Linked DNA regions of Homo sapiens: region 2 is linked to region 1. Evidence: promoter capture Hi-C in human tissues and cell types (Jung and others, 2019). All regions are on one chromosome and are shown on one strand. The core of a region is centred on a gene start or on the middle of the fragment in contact, and the rest is flanking DNA. Distances in the headings are between cores, read along the strand shown. Region 1 holds the start of TAX1BP1 (Tax1 binding protein 1). Region 2 has its middle 21 kb from the start of HOTTIP.

Region 1 (4,553 bases), core at 1,056-3,555:
CATAATTGTTCCGGAAAAAAAAGTTGACTGTGGGTGCTGCCCCAGATAGTGAGGAATGTCACATAAAGCACACCTCTCTAAAGTCTGAAAAATTCTGAATTCTGAAATCCATCTGGCAGAAAGATTTCACTTAAAGGAAGTGAATCCATATCTCTTCTAGCCATAGTCCACTGCCATACAAATAAGAGGCTAACTTTAAGAAATTCAATTAAAGCCGGGTGCGGTCTCTCATGCTTGTAATCCCAGCACTTTGGGAGGCTGAGGCAGGCAGATCACCTGAGGTCAGGAGTTGGAGACCAGCCTGGCCAACATGGAGAAACCCCGTCTCTACTAAAGATATAAAAATTAGCCCAGTGTGGTGGTGTGCGCCTGTAATCCTAGCCACTGGGGAGGCTGAGGCAGGAGAATTGCTTGAATCTGGGAGGTGGAGGTTGCAGTGACCCGAGATCATGCCACTGCACTACACCCTAGGTGACAGAGCGAGACTCTGTCTCAAAAAACAAACAAACAAAAAACCCAAACCCTACTCCCCCAAAACCCAGAAATTCAATTAAATACTAAGAGGGTATCTATTTATCTTGGTGGGAAAAACTTGGTCTAAAAATTAAAGGATCATTATTAAAATGAATGAAGCAAGCTAAAATTCCAGAACAAATACCTTCCTGGGGAAAATAAGGTCTAAAAATTCAAGAAATAATTAAAAATAACAAAGTAAAAATACCTGTGAAAATGTCCTTTGAGACCAGCCTGACCAACACGGCGAAACCTCCTCTCTACTAAAAATACAAAAATTAGCCAGGCGTGGTGGCTGGCTCCTGTAATCCCAGCTACTTGGGAGGCTGAGGCAGGAGAATTGCTTGAACCCGGGAGGCGGAGGTTGCAGTGAGCCGAGATCGCGCCACTGTACTGCAGCCTGAGCAACAAGAGCGAAACTCCGTCCCTCTCAGGGCAAAAAAAAAAGTCTTTCAATTATGGTTTTTATTAAGCATACTGTTTTTCTGATTTCATTAACTGAAAATTAGTGGTAATTAAAAATGTATTACATATAAATAGGAATGTGATTTAAACAAAGAGTGACATCTCTGACAAATTGTGCTTATAAAATTCACTGCTATGTTTACATTTCTTAAGGGACACAGTTATTTCTACTACCAGAAGGTTGCTACCAGTAACGCAAGTGATAACTTATGTTGATTATTCACACCGTTTTCTTCATCCATAAAATAAGGAGACTGGGACTAAATGGCCTATTAAGGTTCTTCTGAAATTCTATGATCAAGTATAATACCCAGCACAAGACCAAGTTCAAAAATGTCAATACACAGGAAACAAATCAGTCTGTAAATATTGAGAACCTATGTTATCAAAGCTAATGTCTTCTGAAATAACTGGAAGTAAAGATGAAAGTATATGAAAGATAATTTTGAATGTTCTGTATTTAGAATGTGCTTCAACATTTAATGCGATCTAATTTACATATCCTTTCTGGTGCTATTGCAAGGTTTGTCAGGGTTTTACGGCAACAGAAGACTATGATGAATTCGAATGGGACACATTTGCTTCTGTGGAGTTACGATTCAAACTGAATGTCCAATATAGGAAGGCAACATATACAACAAGCAAAAGTGATTTTAGAAATAACAGAACGCGGGAGAAAATTCACACACGGAAAATGATACGGATAACAAAAGCAGGTAACTCACAGAAATGCGGCTAGAAAAGAGGCCTCTGCTGGAGCGAGAGCAAATAGAATCAGAGGGCATTAGAACTGAAAAGCTCCTAGGAGCTTTCAGTGAACAAAACTTCATAGCCAAAAAAGCACACGACTGGGCCAGGAGTTCAGAGACAGTCTTGGTGCTCAGGGGTTTGCAGCCCTAGCCGTGTGGTCACTCCCTTGCTTCTCTGGCTATTTCCTTATCTATAAAATGAGTGGGCTAGTTTAGGCCGACTGAGACGCAGACAGGGATACGGTACTGTCCATGGACCTCTGAGCTGCCCTTTCCACATCGCTGGTGAGTTACTTAAACCTCCTGTGTGTTTCCCCCTTTCGTATGTCAAAATAATAACATAAAATCAGAATGTAAATCCAGACGCATTGTTTTGCTGCGATTAAGTTGAACGAAAATAGCAAGGACGAAGTAAGGAGAGAGCCAGCCTACCCGCGGGATGAGGCGTCCCGCGGCGGAGTGGGCTGGGGGCGTGTCGTCGCGGAGGGGAGCGGCGAACCAGGCAGGAGGCGGAAGAGACCGCCCCGTGGGCGGAAGTGACGCAAGGCCTACTGTCGGCTGGGAGGGGAGGTGTAGCCGGTCTTTGGGGGTAGGCGGTAGTGGCGGAAGAGGTTCGGCGGCTGATGGCGGATCAGGATCGGAAGCCTGCGTAACTTTCTCCCTTGATCCGGGAGTCTTTCCACTGGGTAAGGCGCCTCCCCGGTCCACCCCAGCGCCTTGTGCGGGGCGGCCTCCAGCTGCATCTCTTTTAGGGCTCGTGCTACACCCTTCAGCCCCTGTACTGTAGGGGCCTGGCCGGTCTCGGGAGAGGTCTCTGTGGTGACGAGGCTTTCCTTCCCGAAGACAAACCTTCCTTTCCAGACTGCGATTGTGACGGGGGTGTGGGCGACTCGGATCAGCTGTGGAGTTTTGGAATGGCAACGGGTGGCCGCCCCACGCGGTGGGAGGCCCGTGGGACAGGCCTTCGCGATTTGGGGGAGGCGTGTGGGACGGGGGCCCTTTGGCTGGGGACGAGTGACGCTGGCGACCCCCGAAGGAAAAGCTTCTGGTGTCCAAGGCTAAACTCTGGGGTGACTGTTTTGAGGGCAGTGTGGGTTTTACCGGCGCAGTAAGCTGAGAAAACACGTAGGTCGCGTCCGAGAAGGACGCTGGGGTTTGCCTTTGCGGAGAGAAACCCAGCTGTTTTGGTTTGAGTCGCCGGTGGCGAAGGGGGCGGAGACTCCCTGCGCCGCCTACTTTTGAGGGCCGCGGGCGGAGTTGGCGGTTCTGGCTGATGGCCTGCTTCACCTGGAATCCATTCCCCACCCCGCCCCGTTCGCAAGGTGTGGACTAGTCCCGACCGACTTGCACTCCTGGCTTAGGGAATCTGTGGCTAGAGTTTAGCGTGCGCGCGCGCGCGTACACCTTATTAGTAAAAAATTGAGCTTAGCGTGCGTCTGTGTGGGTGTGTGTACACACCTTATTGGTAAAAGTTTTGTTAGAAAACACTGGCATTTGACTTTAGACATACACAGTGTTAGATTTCCGGTTTCACACAGTGGTTATGAATTGCTATTATGTTAGGCTTTAGATGGGAAAATAAATCTTGATTTTTCAGCTGTCTGCATTCTGCTAATGTTAAAATTTCTACGAGCTGTGCACGAACAATTAATAGTTACAAGTTTGGTGCTCAATTCCTAAAGGATTTAAAGAGATCATTTGAATAGAAACTAAAAGTGGGTCGATCGTCCTCAAAGTGCTTTTCGGGTTTAGGGAAGGAGCTTAGGACAGCCTTTCTCTTTCGTTCTGTTCCTTTCAAGGGTAAACTTGAAGGATTGTTTGATGATGCCGACTTCTAATAAGGTTTTATTTATTTTTCAAACTGATTGTTCAACTTCAAAGAACATTGTAGTTTTTGTTTTCTAGTCATCACGTTCTTTTTTTTTTTTTTTCCTTGAGATGGAGTCTTGCTCTGTCTCCCAGGCTGGAGTGCAGTGGCGCGATCGCGGCTCATTGCAACCTCCGCCTCCCAGGTTCAAGCGATTCTCCTGCCTCAGCCTCCTGAGTACCTGGGATTACAGGCGCGCACCACCACACTGAAGGGGTGGGTTGCCCCTCCACACCTGTGGGTGTTTCTCGTTAGGTGGAATGAGAGACTTGGAAAAGAAAAAGACACAAAGTACAGAGAAAGAAATAAGGGGATCCGGGGAACCAGCGTTCAGCATATGGAGGATCCCGCCAGCCTCTGAGTTCCCTTAGTATTTATTGATCATTTGTGGGTGTTTCTCCGAGAGGGGGCTATGTCAGGGTCACAAGACAATAGTGGGGAGAGGGTCAGCAGACAAACACGTGAACAAAGGTCTTTGCATCATAGACAAGGTAAAGAATCAAGTGCTGTGCTTTTAGATATGCATACACATAAACATCTCAATGCTTTACAAAGCAGTATTGCTGCCCACATGTCCCACCTCCAGCCCTAAGGCGGTTTTTCCCTATCTCAGTAGATGGAACGTACAATCGGGTTTTATACTGAGACATTCCATGCCCAGGGACGGGCAGGAGACAGATGCCTTCCTCTTGTCTCAACTGCAAGAGGCATGCCTTCCTCTTATACTAATCCTCCTCAGCACAGACCCTTTACGGATGTCGGGCTGGGGGATGGTCAGGTCTTTCCCTTCCCACGAGGCCATATTTCAGACTATCACATGGGGAGAAACCTTGGACAATACCTGGCTTTCCTAGGCAGAGGTCCCTGCAGGCTTCCACAGTTTTTGTGTCCCTGGGTACTTGAGATTAGGGAGTGGTGATGACTCTTAAGGAGCATGCTGCCTTCAAGCATCTGTTTAA
Region 2 (4,553 bases), core at 1,438-3,937, 520 kb before region 1:
CTGCCTCAGCCTCCCGAGTAGCTGGGATTACAGGCATGCGACACCATGCCTGGCTAATTTTTGTATTTTTAGTAGAGACAGGGTTTCTCCATGTTGGTCAGGCTGGCCTCGAACTTCCGACCTCAGGTGATCTGCCCACCTCGGCCTCCCAAAGTGCTGGGATTACAGGCGTGAGCCACCTCACCCAGCTGGGTCCATATTTTCAATGACTAATTTCTGCTGCCAATTGTTAATATGCTGGGTAGGGACAGTGGCCCAGGGGACAGCTGTTGGGGAGGTGGGCATCTCTAAGGATGTAGCCACTGCTCTGGAAGCCTCATTCTGAGCTTTGGGGCCGGATTCCTTGTCCACAGTGTGTCTATTAATATAAGCCTTTCTGATAATTGAAAGTAAGTTATGGGAAATGTAATATATATCCCCGGTATTTACTGCCTCGGGAACAAGGGAGACATAATGAAGGAGGGAAGTTTGTAATTGCAGAAAAACATCAGTTCTAGGAACAGAAATCAGTGGCAGCCAGAGACGTTCTCCCCAGGTTTCCGGCCCTGCTGGTGGCCCCTCCACCAGGCTCCATACAGGCAGGAACCCCCAGAAGAGGAAAGGGGCCTGTAATAGGAGTCATCAACCTGTCACCACGGCTAGGGTGAATATGGCCTCTGAGTTGGGGGAAGGGGGGAGGTTTACTCTTTAGCACCACCAGCTGCAGGGATGGGGAGGGGCTGTGGAGGGTGGGGTGGGGAGGGGAGGCTGGAGGTGGAGCTGGCCTTCTCTATCCACAGCCCACAGCCTCCTCAGAACAGACACTGGGCTAGTAACGTGCGATGCTGCGGTCTAGGTCCCTGGCCCCACTTGGCACTAAGGTGAGCATGGTGGTCCTTACCCTCAGGCAGCCTTCACATCTATAAGAATGTGCATACATGCGTGGGTTTGCGTGTGAAGGAAACATGGAGGGTGACACAGCTACATAAATGATTGCACCAAAGGCTGAGATAAGAACCTAGGGATGGAGCAGTATGAACCGGGTGCCAAGTGGTGTGGGGTGTCAGGGTCTGGCTGAGGGTGGGCAGCAAGGAGGCTGAGATAATGACCTGGACAGGTGGAGAGGGGCCGTCCCAGGTGGAGATGCAAGGAGGATGCTGGGAACAAACTCTGGCTCTTGGGCTAGAGGGGAAGGGAGGGTAAAGGAGGCATTGTCTGGCACCTACCAGGTGCTGTGCTTTGCAGGGATGATCTCATCGAACCCTCACAATATCCCCATGTGGTAGGTACTTGTGTTACCCAAATTCTACAGATGAGGAAACAGGCAGAGAGGGTCAGTGACTTGGGCAAGGTCCCGTGGCTGGGTGGCAGAGAGCCTCTGTGAGTTGCTCTGAACCGGTCCATAGGAGGAAGCCCAGCACCTGCAGTGAAGCCCTGGTAAAGGGGAAACTTAGTTGGGAGGCTTTGATTTTGAATTGAGGCCTTGCTTGCTTTAAGAAGGTTCTCATAAGGAAAAGCTGCATGCGTCTTACATTTCTGTATTTCCCCCGTGCCACTGCCAGCCCCATCTTATAAGTTATCCGCGAGTGATGAGAAGTCCCCCCTCCTCCCCGGGGTGAGTGAGAGGGCACCATCCCTGGGGCAAGGGCCCCCAGGCGCAGGATGCACGAACCGAGGGACACACCGCCGCCAGACTGACCTGGTGTGGCGGTCGGGCGGGGCCGGGCCAGGCCGCGACCGCGAGAAACCACAGCCCCACGGAGGAGGCCGGGCCGCGGGGCTGGCGGGGACCCTGCAGGCCGGGCCGAGGTGCGGTGAGGCCTCCTCCCGACCTGGCCGCGTCCTCAGAGTTCGCTCGGGGCTTCGTGTTTGCAGAGCAGCCTCCCGCCTGCCCGGCTTGCCCGGGGATGTGGGTGGACCCGCCCCGCGCGGCCGCGGCCCAGTGCAAACCGTGATCCACCCTCTTCCGCTCGGTGGGAGGAACCCGGGGCTTTGCGCCCCTAACCAGCAGCGTGACCCTCGCAGTCAGGGAACTTCTCATCTGTGAAGAAAGCTTAAGAATGACACCCCTGACAGGAGCATACGTGCTTGCCTGCCCATAGGGGACAGGAACAAACGAGATCATGTATTCCATGAACACGCTTTTAATGCCCACCTACTATATGACAGGTGCTGTGCTAGGCACTTCTGTATTCATTCTAAAATATTAATTTTGCATCGTGTCCTTTTGGTATACTTTATTGAAATACTATGTACAAAAAGTGCAAAAGTCATAAGATCATCTAACACCAACAAATATTTATTTTCATTCAACAAATAAATGATTCTGTAAAACTTATTGGCAATGTGTGAGAGTATTGCACACTGCAATAAAGTGTTGTCAGTAAGAGGCCTCTTCTCTACATTACCTGCTGTTGATCTGGGATGAATTTACCTGAGTACTTGCTTCTTCTGGGACTGGAGATGGGTTTTCGGCTCCATTCTGTCACTAAACACCCTGGCTACCTCCTGTGATCTCTCTGGAACTCCTCAGTGGAATGAGGCGGCTGGCCTTCACACTAAGGACCCTACTTCCTGTGACTGATGAGGGTGGCTTGGGTGTATTTCAGAAATAATAGGACACAATTTGAGTGTGGCTTCTTGTATTTATGATTACTAACACAAATGTTATCCACACATTCATGATAATACACATTTGCAGGTGAATGTCTTTGGCAGAGCTGCTGGAAGAAATGTGAGGCCTGTGACTCATCATGAAATCCCAAGAAGGTTTCACTACTTTACCAACTGAGAAGTTCTCATAGGTGGCTTTAGAGAAGAGCGTTTCTTCTTGTGCAAATAGAATCCTTCTACTGAGCAGTCTTCTAAAGCAGTCATCTCAAAAATGAAGATAATAACACTACTCATTTTATATTTTATGCAGAAAGCTTTTAGAACAGTGCCTGGGCACACACTGAGAGTTTAATAAAAGTTAGCCACAATTATTATTCACTCTTTGACACTCCCCCAAAAGCTTATTTGTCTCCATTCTTCCCTCTTTAAGAAAGGAGGTAGTAGGTTGGAAGGTCTAGCCTAATTGTTATAAGGTGCTGCCATGAATCCCAACCTAAAAATTAACAGTAGGAGGCATAGATCCCTAAGTAGTTTTCTCCCTACACATTCATCCCTTGTGAATACAGGATGATTGGGTAAAGGTCCAACCTCCCTTCCTGGGCTCCCTGGCCTGGAGAGGCACCAGGGCACTCCCTAAGGCAACCTCATCAGAAATCAGAATCCTCATCAGCAGACCTAAGTCCTTCAGGCCACCAGTGCCTTCCCAAGGGGGTTAAAAGTTCTCTAACAAGGGCAGTGTCAGGTATGGAGAAAATGATGGAGTAAGAATTCCTTCCATATGAGTGGAGATTTACAGTTGACAAAGCACTGGCCATTTCTCCATGTTTAGTGGGGTTGATAGGAAGACTTCCCTGGGTTTTGTGTGTTTGTTTTCGTGATGATGGAAGGGTACTGAGTGCAAAGAGCCTTTGGTGTTTTGAATGCAAGGTGACTCTGTCTTTGGCTCTGGAGTTACAGACACCTAGATTTGAGCCACCACTCTGCCATCTATTTGCTTTGTGACCTTCGGCAAGTCTGTTTATATTTTTCTTAACTTTAGCTTCCTCAACTCGAAAATGGATGTAACAATATCACCTAGTTAGCCCATAAGGCTGTTGTGCAGTTTAATTTCTATGATGCAAATAAAGCACTTAGCTCAGTGCCTAAAGTAATGTAGATGCAATACTAGTTAGCTTTCAATATATATTATCAATATTCTTATATGATTCTCTTAGACATGGCAGAAAAAATTCATTCTGATTTTATAGGTGATAAAACCGTATGGAACTACTGATATTTACTATAGCATGGATGAACCTCAAAAATTGTGCTAAGTGAAAGAAGCCAGACCCAACAGACTACCTGTTGTGTGATTATGTCTGTCTAAAATGCCCAGAAAAGGTAAACTTATTAAGATAGAACATTAGCGGTTGCCTCAAGCTGGACGTGGAAAGGGGAATTAACTTAAAAAAAAAACGAGGGATCTCATGGGTTGAGAAGATGAAAATGTTCTGAAATGGATTTATCGTGATGGTTGTACCACTTGGTAAAGCTACTACTAAAAATCATTGTTTTGTACACCTGAAGTGGGTAAATGTTATGATGCATAACATATACATCAATAAAGTTGTTTTAAAAACCCAAAATATCACAGGAGAAGAGGGGGAATAGAATCTAGGTTTCCTATTAGGTGTTCTTTAGACTCTGCTACCTCCCATTGGGTAGGAGAGAGAAGGCAAACAGCAGGGGAGGAGCTATGGTTAGAATCTCCGTTAAATAAGAGAATGGAACTAAGACAATTCTGAGAATGTGGAGGTGGTAGTTTCTTAAAGAGGGAAGAATGGAGAGAAATAAGCTTTTGGGGGAGTGTAAAAGAGTGAATAATAATTGTGGCTAACTTTTGTTAAACTCTCAGTGTGTGCCCAGGCACTGTTCTAAAAGCTTTCTGCATAAAATATAAAATGAGTAGTGTCATTATCTTC

Evidence for each region. The method cuts DNA at HindIII sites, captures the fragments that hold promoters and counts their contacts. A contact is called where the count stands out against the background at its distance.
Region 2: a contact is called between a fragment that was not itself captured here and the fragment with the promoter of TAX1BP1 in region 1, in 1 of the 25 tissues and cell types used here (H1 embryonic stem cells).

Annotation. Positions count from the first base shown.
Region 1 is chr7:27,737,857-27,742,409 of GRCh38, forward strand. TAX1BP1 (Tax1 binding protein 1) reads left to right here and starts at 2,306. Exons shown (of 17, transcript NM_006024.7): 1 at 2,306-2,413. TAX1BP1-AS1 (TAX1BP1 antisense RNA 1) reads right to left here and starts at 2,819. Exons shown (of 2, transcript NR_187572.1): 1 at 2,160-2,819. RefSeq lists enhancers at 2,241-3,103, 2,320-2,589, 3,104-3,967 and a silencer at 2,757-2,989. The HindIII fragment of the contact is 10,372 bases long and covers 1-3,965 here.
Region 2 is chr7:27,218,848-27,223,400 of GRCh38, forward strand. No RefSeq gene overlaps it. Among named protein-coding and RNA genes, the nearest start is that of HOTTIP, 21 kb to the left of the region's middle. RefSeq lists an enhancer at 1,263-1,824. The HindIII fragment of the contact is 3,563 bases long and covers 907-4,469 here.